3 separate regions of the Homo sapiens genome follow, and all the other regions are linked to region 2. The links are contacts of gene promoters, found by promoter capture Hi-C in blood cells and fetal thymus (Javierre and others, 2016). All regions are on one chromosome and are shown on one strand. Each heading gives the region's core, a stretch centred on a gene start or on the middle of the fragment in contact. The rest is flanking DNA. Distances are from core to core; before and after follow the strand shown.

What was found. The method cuts DNA at HindIII sites, captures the fragments that hold promoters and counts their contacts. A CHiCAGO score of 5 or more calls a contact.
Region 1: a contact is called between a fragment that was not itself captured here and the fragment with the promoter of SNAPIN in region 2, in 3 of 17 cell types (total B cells, naive B cells and erythroblasts). The highest score is 6.0, in total B cells.
Region 3: a contact is called between a fragment that was not itself captured here and the fragment with the promoter of SNAPIN in region 2, in 2 of 17 cell types (M0 macrophages and total B cells). The highest score is 6.1, in M0 macrophages.

Annotation. Positions count from the first base shown.
Region 1 is chr1:154,238,904-154,242,599 of GRCh38, forward strand. UBAP2L (ubiquitin associated protein 2 like) reads left to right here. Exons shown (of 27, transcript NM_014847.4): 9 at 2,610-2,662. Among named protein-coding and RNA genes, the nearest start is that of SNORA58B, 19 kb to the right of the region's middle. The HindIII fragment of the contact is 2,081 bases long and covers 1,225-3,305 here.
Region 2 is chr1:153,657,145-153,661,399 of GRCh38, forward strand. It overlaps SNAPIN (SNAP associated protein), which reads left to right and starts at 1,559. Exons shown (of 4, transcript NM_012437.6): 1 at 1,559-1,742; 2 at 1,994-2,040; 3 at 2,304-2,422; 4 at 4,056-4,255. The coding sequence starts at 1,600. The coding sequence ends at 4,157. RefSeq lists an enhancer at 1,325-1,404. The HindIII fragment of the contact is 14,460 bases long and covers 1-4,255 here.
Region 3 is chr1:154,178,014-154,181,760 of GRCh38, forward strand. The region is part of intron 2 of TPM3 (tropomyosin 3); the gene reads right to left. Among named protein-coding and RNA genes, the nearest start is that of TPM3, 12 kb to the right of the region's middle. RefSeq lists an enhancer at 2,180-3,176. The HindIII fragment of the contact is 2,058 bases long and covers 403-2,460 here.

The DNA of each region.
Region 1 (3,696 bases), core at 1,015-3,514, 580 kb after region 2:
CTAATTTTTGTATTTTTAGTAGAGATGGGGTTTCACTATGTTGGCCAGGCTGGTCTCAAACTCCTGACCTCAAGTGATCCACCTGCCTTGGCCTCCCAAAGTGCTGGGATTACAGGTGTGAGCCACCACGCCTGGTCGTTGTTAATTTCATGATATGAACATACCTTCATGCATGGTTTCTTTTTGTGTTTTCCTGATAGCAAACTTGAGTTTCCCCTTTAAATTAAAAAAAAAATCCAAACCTACCTTTAAAATATCCACAGGTACAATGGGGATTATGTATTGGGGCAGACTTTCTCATTTACAAGCAAAATTTCACTGGTTGTTTTTTCTTTTCTTTTCTTTTTTTTTTGTTTCAGGACTTGATTTCATTGGGGTTGAGGGGTCAAATTATCCCCCAAAATTATCCCCCAGACTGCTCCTGGTATGATACATCCAGGTGCCTAACTGCCCCAGATATTTTTGTAGATTTTTATGAGCTGAAATATCTGTGGATATGTCATTTTTATGTCTTTCTGCTTTTTCTCTTTCTGCCTTTTTCTCTCATTTTTCTGTGTCCACTTACCTTTCTGTTCATTTAATGAATATTTGACAGTTACACTGATTGCTTTCTGCTAATGGAATGGAAACCCTAGTCTGTTGTTTAGAGCATTTCCATCTATTCTGTTCCTTAATGCTTCCTCAGCTCTCTCTCTTCCTCAGCCATGACCGTATATCCTGAATAGGAACATACCAGTTAGGTGTCTACGTTCCTCCTTTCCATCCCAGTTGAAGTCATCAGTGTGCAGAAAAAAATTCTTGCATCAAGAGCCTAGATTAAATAACCTGTTAGATCATGTCTAACTCTAGGATTGTGTATAAGTGCTAATGCAACTTGGATTCCATCGAGCCAGGATAAGATGGATGTCAATGAGAAGAAAGTGTGGTATCAATGAAGGAGAAAAGAATGTGGTTTGTAACTTGTCTGTACTGAGATTGGACTTTGGTTTTGAGAATATTGTCATTATTAAGTGGTTTAGGATTTCCCTGGTGCAATTTTAATATTTTCCTGGGAAAGTCTTTACAATGAATATATTTTCCTCTAAGAAAGAAGATTTTTGCATTATTAAATGTTTAGAAGAATTTTAGATGGGCTTTGTATTAGAATACTTCTAATGTGGTGTTAGAATACTTCTCTTCAGTGGCACAGCATCTGAATGTCAGACTTTTCATTTCATTCTTATAAGCTTTTTTCCAGTAGGAGGGAAGGATTGAAGAGTTATTTAATATATATTATTCTAGCAAGAAAATAAGGGTGCTCTTGTCCCTTCTTCAGACAGGTTCTTGTTTTTACTGTGCCTTTGGCTGAAGGGAAGAATCCTGGTTCTTGTTAGAAATTCTCACCCTTATTTTTTAAGAAAGGACATTTTTTTTTTTCTGAAAATATATGTATACATGAAGCACAAAAAAGGAATGTGGAAGGTGGTTTGATTGCTTTTGGATTTCTCCAGTAGAAACTGTATCCCAGCTTCCGTATTACCAACAAACACAAGGACAGTGTATACTCCCGTTGTCTGTGCCATGACCATAGCAGGTCAGGTTTCAAGTTCTATATGAGTAAGGTTAGGACAGTAACTATCATTCATACCTGATTTTTCAGTCTTGTTCATTGTCTTTTGAAGAGGACAGCTCTATAGGGGCTTTTCTTATACAGTTAAACCAATAAGATCTATAAACTTGACTTCTGCTGAGTATGCATTTTTAATCTAATTCTCATAGCAGATAGTTTTCAATGCCCTCAGTTCGGGTTTCAAACCCACCCTTCTTCACTGCTCTTTCACTAACCATTATGTGGTAACCATTTGTGTTTCTCTATCAGTGCTACTATCCTTCTTCAGACTGCCTACAGTATTTTTTGTCTTATACTAGATAAATAGGTGTAGTTTGCATGTTATGGTTTAAATTGGCTGCTGCCATTTCACTGAATTGACCACTAAATCAACCTGAGGACCTTAAAGATACTGCTTTGAGCATTGGGTGGTTGTCTGTCTGTCCCCCCCCCCACCCCCATTCCTGCTTTGTAACAAAAACTGAAAGTAGCTATGAAATCATAATCTTATTAAAACCCTGGTACTCTGAGATATCCTTTTCTAAAGAGTGTTTCCTTACCTTTGAAGCCCAAGAATTTCTTTTTTTTTGTTTTGTTTTTTGTTTTTGTTTGTTTTGAGACAGTTTCACTCTTGTTGCCCAGGCTGGAGTGCAATGCCGCGATCTCAGCTCACTGCAACCTCCACCTCCCAGGTTCAAGCCATTCTTCTGCCTCAGCCTCCCGCGTAGCTGGGATTACAGGCATGTGCCACCACGCCCAGCTAATTTTGTATTTTTAGTAGAGACAGGGTTTCTCCATGTTGGTCAGGCTGGTCTCGAACTCCCGACCTCAAGTGATCCACCCACCTCGGCCTCTCAAAGTATTAGGATTATAGGTGTGAGCCACCACACCTGGCCTTCTGATTACTAAATTTTAGTCATACTTTTGGCTGCCAAAAAAATTAATACATTGATGTTTTCTATACATGCTTTGTACTGGCATTTAATAGTGAAGTTACTTCACTATTTTTCTTTATTCTCAGGTGCATGGAGGACTGCAACAGAGGAGTGGGGGACTGAAGATTGGAATGAAGATGTAGGTATTCCCAGGTCATTCCTCACTAATGCCTTCTATCCCTAAGTGTTGTTTAGGGATAGAAAATGGGTATGTTTCTACCCCTCAAAATTCACCCTTAAGATTCTGACCCAAAACTTTTACATCCAAAATAGTGTTCTGAGCCAGAACATTTCACATATGTTATATGAAGGAGACTGGGCATGAACAGGACTCTGTGGAACCACACTATGGAAAGGGCAAGTGCACTTGTGTAAGTCCAATATCTGATTGTCGGATTTATCCCAGGAAGAGATTGGTGGTTGGGTAGGGCACCAGAAGTGGAGTTAGGCAGGTAGTGCATTGAGTAACAGCTGCTGGTGGTACATGACTACTTGGTGCATTTAAGTATTTGCTATAAGGTCCTGTAATGGATTGGCAGTGGATCCAAAGCGAGTGTTGTGGTACCAAATCCTCAAACTTGTAATCTGGTTGACTCTGGAACCCTTGTATTTATTTGAAGCCCAACTGTATAATTGTGATTGAGATGAATATCTGTAGAATTGGCTATCTGCCAGCTTGACTTAACTTGGAAACCTCATAGATGGGTGGCACGTAAACAAGCTCTGTGAATTCATTTGAGTACTACCTGAGTAAGAATTTTGCTGATTCCTGGTCACAGTCAAGCTTCTGCTGTGAATTATGGTTTTCAGTGATCATGGATAAACTCTTGTTTTAACATTTTTAATCTATGTACTTTTCTATACTTTCATGTAGTTAGGCAAGACAGCTTTTGTGATAAGAGGAAATGACATGTGAAGACTGTTTTGGTTGCCAATTCTGGGTTTTTTAAATTTCAGAGGCATCAGCATCACAGGGTGATTATTTTCTATTGTATAATCAATGAACTAGACTGCTTTGTGAAAATGGGCAAATTATGTTCCTTTCTGAGATTTGGCTTGTCCGCTTAAGCAACTTTCAGAGAATGATAAATGGTGTTGGGCATTGAGGGGAGAGTGGATTTTCTGTGCTTTAGCGATTTTAATCAAGAAATAAAACTGAAACCCAAATCAACT
Region 2 (4,255 bases), core at 309-2,808:
TTTTAATTTTTATTTTTTGAGACAGGGTCTCACCCTGTCACCCAGGCTGAAGTGCATGCAGTGCCACGATCTTGGCTCACTGTAGCCTCAACTTCCTAGGCTCAAGGTCCTCCTACTTCAGCCTCCCAAGTAGCGGGGACCACAGCTGTGAGCCACCATGCCTGGCTAATTTTTTTTTTTTTTTTTTTTTTTGAGATGGAGTCTCGCTCTGTCGCCCAGGCTGGAGTGCAGTGGCGCGATCAGGGCTCACTGCAAGCTCTGCCTCCCGGGTTCACGCCATTCTCCTGCCTCAGCCTCCCGAGTAGCTGGGACTACAGGAGTCCGCCACTGCGCCCGGCTAATTGTTTGTATTTTTAGTAGAGATGGGGTTTCACCGTGGTCTCGATGTCCTGACCTCGTGATCCACCCGCCTCGGCCTCCCAAAGTGCTGGGATTACAGGCGTGAGCCACTGCGCCTGGCCGCCTGGCTAATTTTTTATTTCCTGTAGAGACAGAGTCTCACTAGGTTTGTTGCCCAGACTGATCTCGAACTCCTGGGCTCAGGTGATCCTCCCGCCTCAGCCTCCCAAAGTGCTGGGATTACAGGAGTGAGCCACCATGCCCTGCCTGCATGTTTATATTATTCAGCCTTAAAAAGGAATGAAATTCGGATACATGCAGTTTTTTACATATTTAATGCCATTAAAAATATACTCTTTAGAAATAGACCAGGCGTGGTGGCTCACGTCTGTAATCCCAGCACTTTAGGAGGCTGAGTTGGGAGGATCACCTGAGCCCAGGAGTTCGAGACCAGTCTGGGCAACAAACATAGTGAGACCTCTTCTCTACAGAAAATGAAAAATTAGTCAGGCATGGTGGCTAACACCTGTGGTCCCTGCTACTTGGGAGACTGAAGCAGGAGGACCTCTTGACCCCAGGAGGTGAAGGCTACAGTGAGCCAAGACGGTGGCACTGCACTCCAGCCTAGGCGACAGAGAGAGACCTTGTCTTAAAAACAACCAACCACAATAAACTCTTTAGAAATAGAAAACGATACTATGAATATAATGTGGCTTTCTCATAAAGTGTTTTTGTTTTTGGTTTGTTTTTGTTTGGTTTGGGTTGCTTTTTTTTTTTTTTTTTTTTTTTTTGAGGCGGAGTCTCTCTGTTGCCCAGACTGGAGTGCAGTGGCGCGATCTCGGCTCACTGCAATCTCCGCCTCCCGGGTTCAAGCGGTTCTCCTGCCTCAGTCTCCCAAGTAGCTGGGTGCCCGCCACCATGCCCGGCTATCTCATAAAGTTAACATGGGAAGGCTATGGACAACTGCAGGTATTCGCGTTTATTTTCACCTTTAAAGAAAACGAAAAGTATCCACTCCAAAAACTGGTTCCTTTCTACAACCTGAACTTTGGAGATTTTCAAGACCAGCCACAAGGCCTCTACTCCTACGGCCTGGCCCTCCTCCCCGCCCGGTTCGCGCTAGACTCCATTTCCCAGAAACCCCGGTGTCTTGGTGGAGACAGCATTTCCCGGGCGCCCCCTCACGGGGCGGGGCAGTGCGGCGCGGCTCCGGTTCCCGGCGGCCCTCGCGGCAGGTTTCGGGCTTCAGGACAATTCGTGATGGCGGGGGCTGGTTCCGCCGCTGTATCGGGGGCAGGGACCCCGGTGGCGGGGCCCACAGGCCGCGACCTTTTCGCCGAAGGGCTGCTGGAGTTCCTGCGACCCGCTGTGCAGCAGCTCGACTCTCACGTACACGCCGTCAGGTGCCCGGGAGGGAAGTTGGGGGCGGGGCCTGTCTCTCTGGCTTTGTAGGGGCGGGGCCAAGAAAGTGTTCTGGCTGGGAGTGGGCATAAATTTAGGAAACTGATTCGAGGCGGGGAGGACAGGCGGGAAGGCCGCAGGTGGAGGGTTCAGCGGAGGCCGGCTTCTCTCAGTACTTGGTAAATACGTAGGGGAGTTCGTTTCCTGAGCTCCGGTAACTGCCTGACCTTGTAGGCCTTGTACCTCTTTGCAGAGAGAGCCAGGTAGAGCTCCGGGAACAAATTGACAACCTAGCCACAGGTGAGTGAGCATCCCTGTGTACCCGGAATTCTTCAGCCCACTTTCAGGACCTTAGGTTTTTGCCAACCCCTGGGCTGAGTTTCTGTCACTTGCTTCCAGGGCATCAGGGCTGCCAAAGGACTCCTCCTTTCAGGGATGTCTTAAATCTCTAATGGCTGTGGCCCGTTTGGGTGCAAGTGTTTTCCATCCCATTACCAGCCTGCTTTCCCTCAGAACAAGAGATAAGCCGTTAGATCTTAGCTGCACCTTACTTCCATCCCCAGAACTGTGCCGCATAAATGAGGATCAGAAGGTGGCCCTGGATCTTGACCCCTATGTTAAGAAGCTACTTAATGCCCGGCGACGCGTTGTCTTGGTTAACAACATTCTACAGAATGCTCAGGTAAAAGAATATCTTACCAACAGTGATTCTTTGCCCTTTTTTGTAAGTCCTCAACACAGTGAAAGCCACTGTAATTTTAAAATTCTTTGGGGAAAGGGAAATTCACTTCTCCCAGTACTTGAAAAATACCTAGGAAAATTCGTCTCATTCTCACTATTCAGTTGCTGCCATTTACATTCTTGTGTGTGTGTGTGTGACAGTCTCCCTCTGTCACCCAGGCTGGAGTGCGGTGGCTCAATCTCAGCTCGCTGCAACCTCCGCCCCCTGGGCTCAAGCAATTCTGCCTCCGCCTCCCGAGTAACTAGGACTACAAGCGTGCACAACGCCCAGCTAATTTTTGTATTTTTTTGTAGAAGTAGGGTTTCTCCATGTTGCCCAGGCTGGTCTGGAACTCCTGGGCTCAAGTGAGCTTCCCACCTTGGCCACCCGAAGTGCTGAGACTACAGGAGTGAACCACCACACCTGGCTATTTATTTTTATGATACAAGGTCTATCACCCAGGATGGAGTGCAGTGGCATGATAAAGGCTCACTGCAGCCTCTACCTCCCAGGCTCAAGCGATCCATCCACCTCAGCCTCCCAAGTAGCTGGGACTACAGGCATGCACCACCATGTCCAGCTAATTTTTGTATTTTTTCTAGAGACAGGGTTTCACCATGTTACCCAGGCTGGTCCCAAACTCCTGCATGCGAGTGATCCACCTGCCTGGGCCTCCCAAAACGCTGGGATTACAGGCGTGAGCCACTGCACCCGGCCTGCCTGGCCTTTTTTTTTTTTTTTTTAAATAAAAAGACAGGATCGGCTGGGCGCGGTGGCTCTTGCCTGTAATCCCAGCAGTTTGGGAGGCCGAGGTGGACAGGTCACCTGAGGTTGGGAGTTGGAGACCAGCCTGACCAACATAGAGAAACCCCGTCTCTACTAAAAATACAAAATTAGCTGGGCGTGGTAGCGCATGCCTGTAATCCCAGCTACTTGGGAGGCTGAGACAGAAGAATCACTTGAGCCCGGGGGACGGAGGTTGCGGTGAGCTGAGATCGCACCATTGCACTTCAGCCTGGGCAACAAGAGCGAAACTCCGTCTCGGGAAAAAAAAAAAAAAAAAAAAAAGACAGGCTATCACTATGGTGCCCAGGCTGTTCTCAAACTGGGCTCAAGTGATCTTCCTGCCACTTCCTCCTAAATGGTGCTGGGATAGGCATGAGCACCATGCCTGGCCTACATTTTTTTTTTTTTTTGAGATGGAGTTCTCCCTCTGTCACCCAGGCTAGAGTGCAGTGGCACGATCTCATTTCATTGCAACCTCCACCTCCCGGTTTCAAGCGATTCTCCTGCCTCAGATTACAAGCACCCGCCACCATGCCCAGCTAATTTTTTTGTATTTTTTAGTAGAGACGGGTTTTACCATGTTGGTCAGGCTGGTCTTGAACTCCTGACCTCAGGTAATCCACCCGCCTCAGCCTCCCAAAGTGCTGGGATTACAAGTGTGAGCCACCATGCCCGGCCTACATTCTTATATATACTTTTGAAGACTGACTTTGAGGTAGATCACGCCCGGTATTTTTCAGCACCTAGTTCACTTACACTCTCAAGCCTTTCACAGTGGTTAAGATTCCAAACCTTCCTTGTCTTGTAGGAACGACTGAGACGGCTAAACCACAGTGTTGCCAAGGAAACAGCCCGCAGGAGAGCAATGCTGGATTCGGGAATTTACCCCCCTGGCTCCCCAGGCAAATAACAGATGAGCCTATGGACTCAGTAGCACAAGTACTGTTCCCCAGCTGCCTTGTTTCAACAGACATGCAAAGATCCTAGGAGACAGTCCCCATAGACCTT
Region 3 (3,747 bases), core at 182-2,681, 520 kb after region 2:
CAACACACATTTCTCCTCACAAACCCAACAAGGCCATGGATCAAGAGCAAGTCAGGCTATCAGGCAAGACCTAGGAGACACTGCTAGTAAAATGACTTACCCCCCTCAGACGAAAAATACAACTAGATTTAGAGGAAGCTCATGAAATGTAAGACATCATGCAGCTCACCAGTAGTTACCCAAACTGGAGTAGAAGATAACAGGCTATGGGGCGGGGGTGTACAGTTGCCATGACAGCAAGCTGGCTCAGGCAGTTTCTCCCACAAATCAGCATTTACAATAGAATTCTTAGCAAGGCTGAAAAGGGAGAGGGGGAAAACACATCTTGGTGCCCTCCTAAGAGCATGCACACATGAACAAGCCTGTATCAAAAGCAGAACCTGAGATGGGAGTCCTAGAAAAAGCTTCAGAGACCCCCTCCAGGGTGGAGTGGTAGGGAATGGGACCTTGCCTTTCTCTTTTCTCCTAGCACAGAGGATCAGTTCTCTTTACAATGAAACAAAAGCCTGCAGAATCAAGATCTGATACTTTGTTTAAAGGAACAAGGAAGACAAGCTGACTTTTCCCTCATGAGTCTATGCACAGTGCCTGTCCCTTTCAGGTCAAATAATACCAATGGGTACCAAGAGATTGAACAGGCCTACTTTTTGCAGACCAGGCTACCTGTGGCCCTGGGAAACGTTAAGCTCTGCACTTTCCTAATCATCTTAGGTTTTAGCATGCCCATCCAGATGCGGTTTTGGTGTTTCAGCTGACCTATCTCTGCCCAGTGTGGAGGATATACAGTACTCTGTGGTTCTTCCCTTCAAGTAATAATAGGATTCTCCACTGCCCAGGAAGCAAAGATCCTGGGTGAGGGATTGGGGAAAGAGTAGAATGCCCCAGCAACTCAGTCACATTACCAGATGGCTGACAACACCTTCGGCTATCCTCCACTCCAAAGAGATTTCCCAAATATGTCAACCCCTCCAGGCAAGAAACTGACAGTGTGATGGTACTCTCAGGCAGAACAGGGCCAAGGACAGAAGGGGATTAGCCTAAATCTGGCTTTCTGCCACACTGGGGTTTCTCTTATTAGATAAAAGCCACAGATAAAATTCAAATGAAAGAGTATCAGAAAGTTAGGCTTGAGCCCTGTGAGTAAAGGACTATTTGAGTTCACTGTGCTCACAAATGCATTACCCAGGGAGATACCGTGTCCTTGGGGAATTTAAACTTCACCAAAGGGGAGGCAAGTTGGAAGGGAGTAGAGCTATCTGCCCCACAGTAAACAAAGGCGGAGCCTAAGCAGGGGTAAAGGGCTATCTGCCTCTCCCCTGTGAGTGTGTGTTCTAGTACTGGGGAAAGAGAAAGGAAAGCAAAGCAACCAAAGAAAGGTTGCTTAGTCCACCAGGCCCACGAATAGAAGAGAACCACACAACAGTCAAGCATTCTAACCTCTCCAGAGACTAGGAATTTAGGATTAAGGCCAGAATCAAAGCCCACTCCCTCGGTAGTACTCTTAAGGTTTTTGTTATTACTTTTTTTTTTCTTTTTGAGGCAGAGGTAGTGTGCTGACCTTACACTCCCGCAGTTGACCCCTCACTCCCCCAGTGCCGATACTCGCCCAGGCTGGAGTACAGTGGCATGATCCAATCCTGGTTCACTGCCACCTCCGCCTCCAGGGTTGAAGCAATTCTTGTGCCTCAGCCTCCCAAGTAGCTGGGATTACAGGCATGCGCCACCATGCCCAGCTAATTTTTTGTATTTTTAGTAGAGATGGGGTTTCATCAGATCCACAGGTGGACCTCAGATCCACCCGCCTAGGCCTCCCAAAGGGCTGGGATTACAGGTGTGAGCCACCGCACCCAGCCTCTTAAGTTTTTTAGACTAGAAAAAAATTAAAAAGAGAAAAATATCAGGGACAATTAGGAGAGAGTTATTAAAAACAGATAAGGTGAACTGTACATTTATAAATGGTTAAAATGGTAAATTTTACATGTATTTTTATCACCACTACCACAAAAAAAAAGAGATAAGGAAAAAGACTGCATTTAAACATTATGTTGCCATCTGTTTCCATTTAGACAGAAGTAAAAAGGAAATACAGAACTGAAAGTAAATTTGACAAGGTGCTACATTATAAAAGACCAATTTCCAGGCCGAGAGCAGAAAAGAAAGATGGATCCTAGAACACCAGTGTCTCAGTTTTAGACTCATCTAGCTTCCCAACAAGGGTGGCTTGGATGTTCACACAAAGTAACCAGGAAAATAATTAAGTGACAATCCCACTAACAGCATGAGATACCATCAGAGAGTGCAGTTTCCCGCTCCAGAGGAGGGAGGAGTCTGCAAAACCCACATTCCAGAATGCCTTAAGAGGATAACAGGTAGCCCAAGCAACCCCCCTCCCTTCCCACAGGTGTCTCCTCCTCAGTAGGGGTTCAAAGTTCAGCAGAGCAGCAGAAAGTCAAAAGATTAAGCTTCTTCAGGCTGGGGAGTAGAAGAAATGATTTCATCAATATTTAACTATAACTCTACTTCCCCATTCTGAGGACTTCCTCACTAGACCTCAGCTCAATAAGCAAATTTGGCAGGCTCTGAGTGAAAGTAGCTTAAGAAACATCACCCCAGGACAGGCGCAGTGGCTCATGCCTGTAATCTCAGCACTTTGGGAGGCTGAGGCAGGCAGATCACTTGAGGTCAGGAGTTTGAAACCAGCCTGGCCAACATGGTGAAACCCCATCTCTACTAAAAATAAAAAAATAAAATAATAAAAAAAAATCGCCGAGTGTGGTGGTGGATGCCTGTAATCCCAGCCACTCAGGAGGCTAAGGCAGGAGAATCACTTGAGCCTGGGAGGTGGAGGTTGCAGTGAGCAGAGATCGTGCAACTGCATTCCAGGCTGGGCTACAGAGCAAGTCTCCATCTAAAAAAAAAAAGAGGGGGGATGGGAGGCAGGAATCACCCACCTTAGAACTACTCCTAGAATGTCCATATTTAAATACTGAGCCTAAGATTCTGCAGCTCAACACATGGCCAGTTCCTCTGTCTTCCCCTTTAAAGCTATCTGGTCTCCAGAACAAAGGAGATGAGAAAGTGCCACTGGCCATAAAGAGTCACCCAGCCAGTCCATCTCACTTGCACAGATAATAAGAAGTTGTTGGCAAACTGAACAGAGGAAAAAAATCTACCTAGAAAAAGGTGTCTGAGGAAGACAACAAGCTCCCATCCCAGCATCTCCATGACCACTTATAAAAATAAGTGAGTATTCCAACAATCTTTAAGTATTTAAACTGGAGGGCAGCTGTCCCCCAATTACCATCCTTTTCTGAAATCCACCCCTCCCCCTCCCAAAAACATTCTCAGTTATTTCCCAGAGGAGCAGCCAAAAAGAAAAACAAAAACAAAAACTTACCAAGGGAAAGAACAAAGAACAAAGAATAAACCACATGAGTACTTTCACTGGATCTTGAATTTTAGCAACAGTTACTTTACTCTCTCAAGATCCTCCAAAACAAAGCCTCAACTCGTATCAGCTCCATCTATTAGACTGCACCCTAGACCTTGGAAAATCTTATGGCTTACACTAAAACTAATCAGCCACTTTTAAACAGAAAGACGTTTAAAGAAATCACTAGAATAGGCTGGGCACGGTGGATCACACCTGTAATCCCAGCACTTTGGGAGGCAGAGGTGGGTGGATCACCTGAGGTCAGGAGTTCGAGACCAGCCTGGCCAACATGGCGAAACCCCGTCTCTACCAAA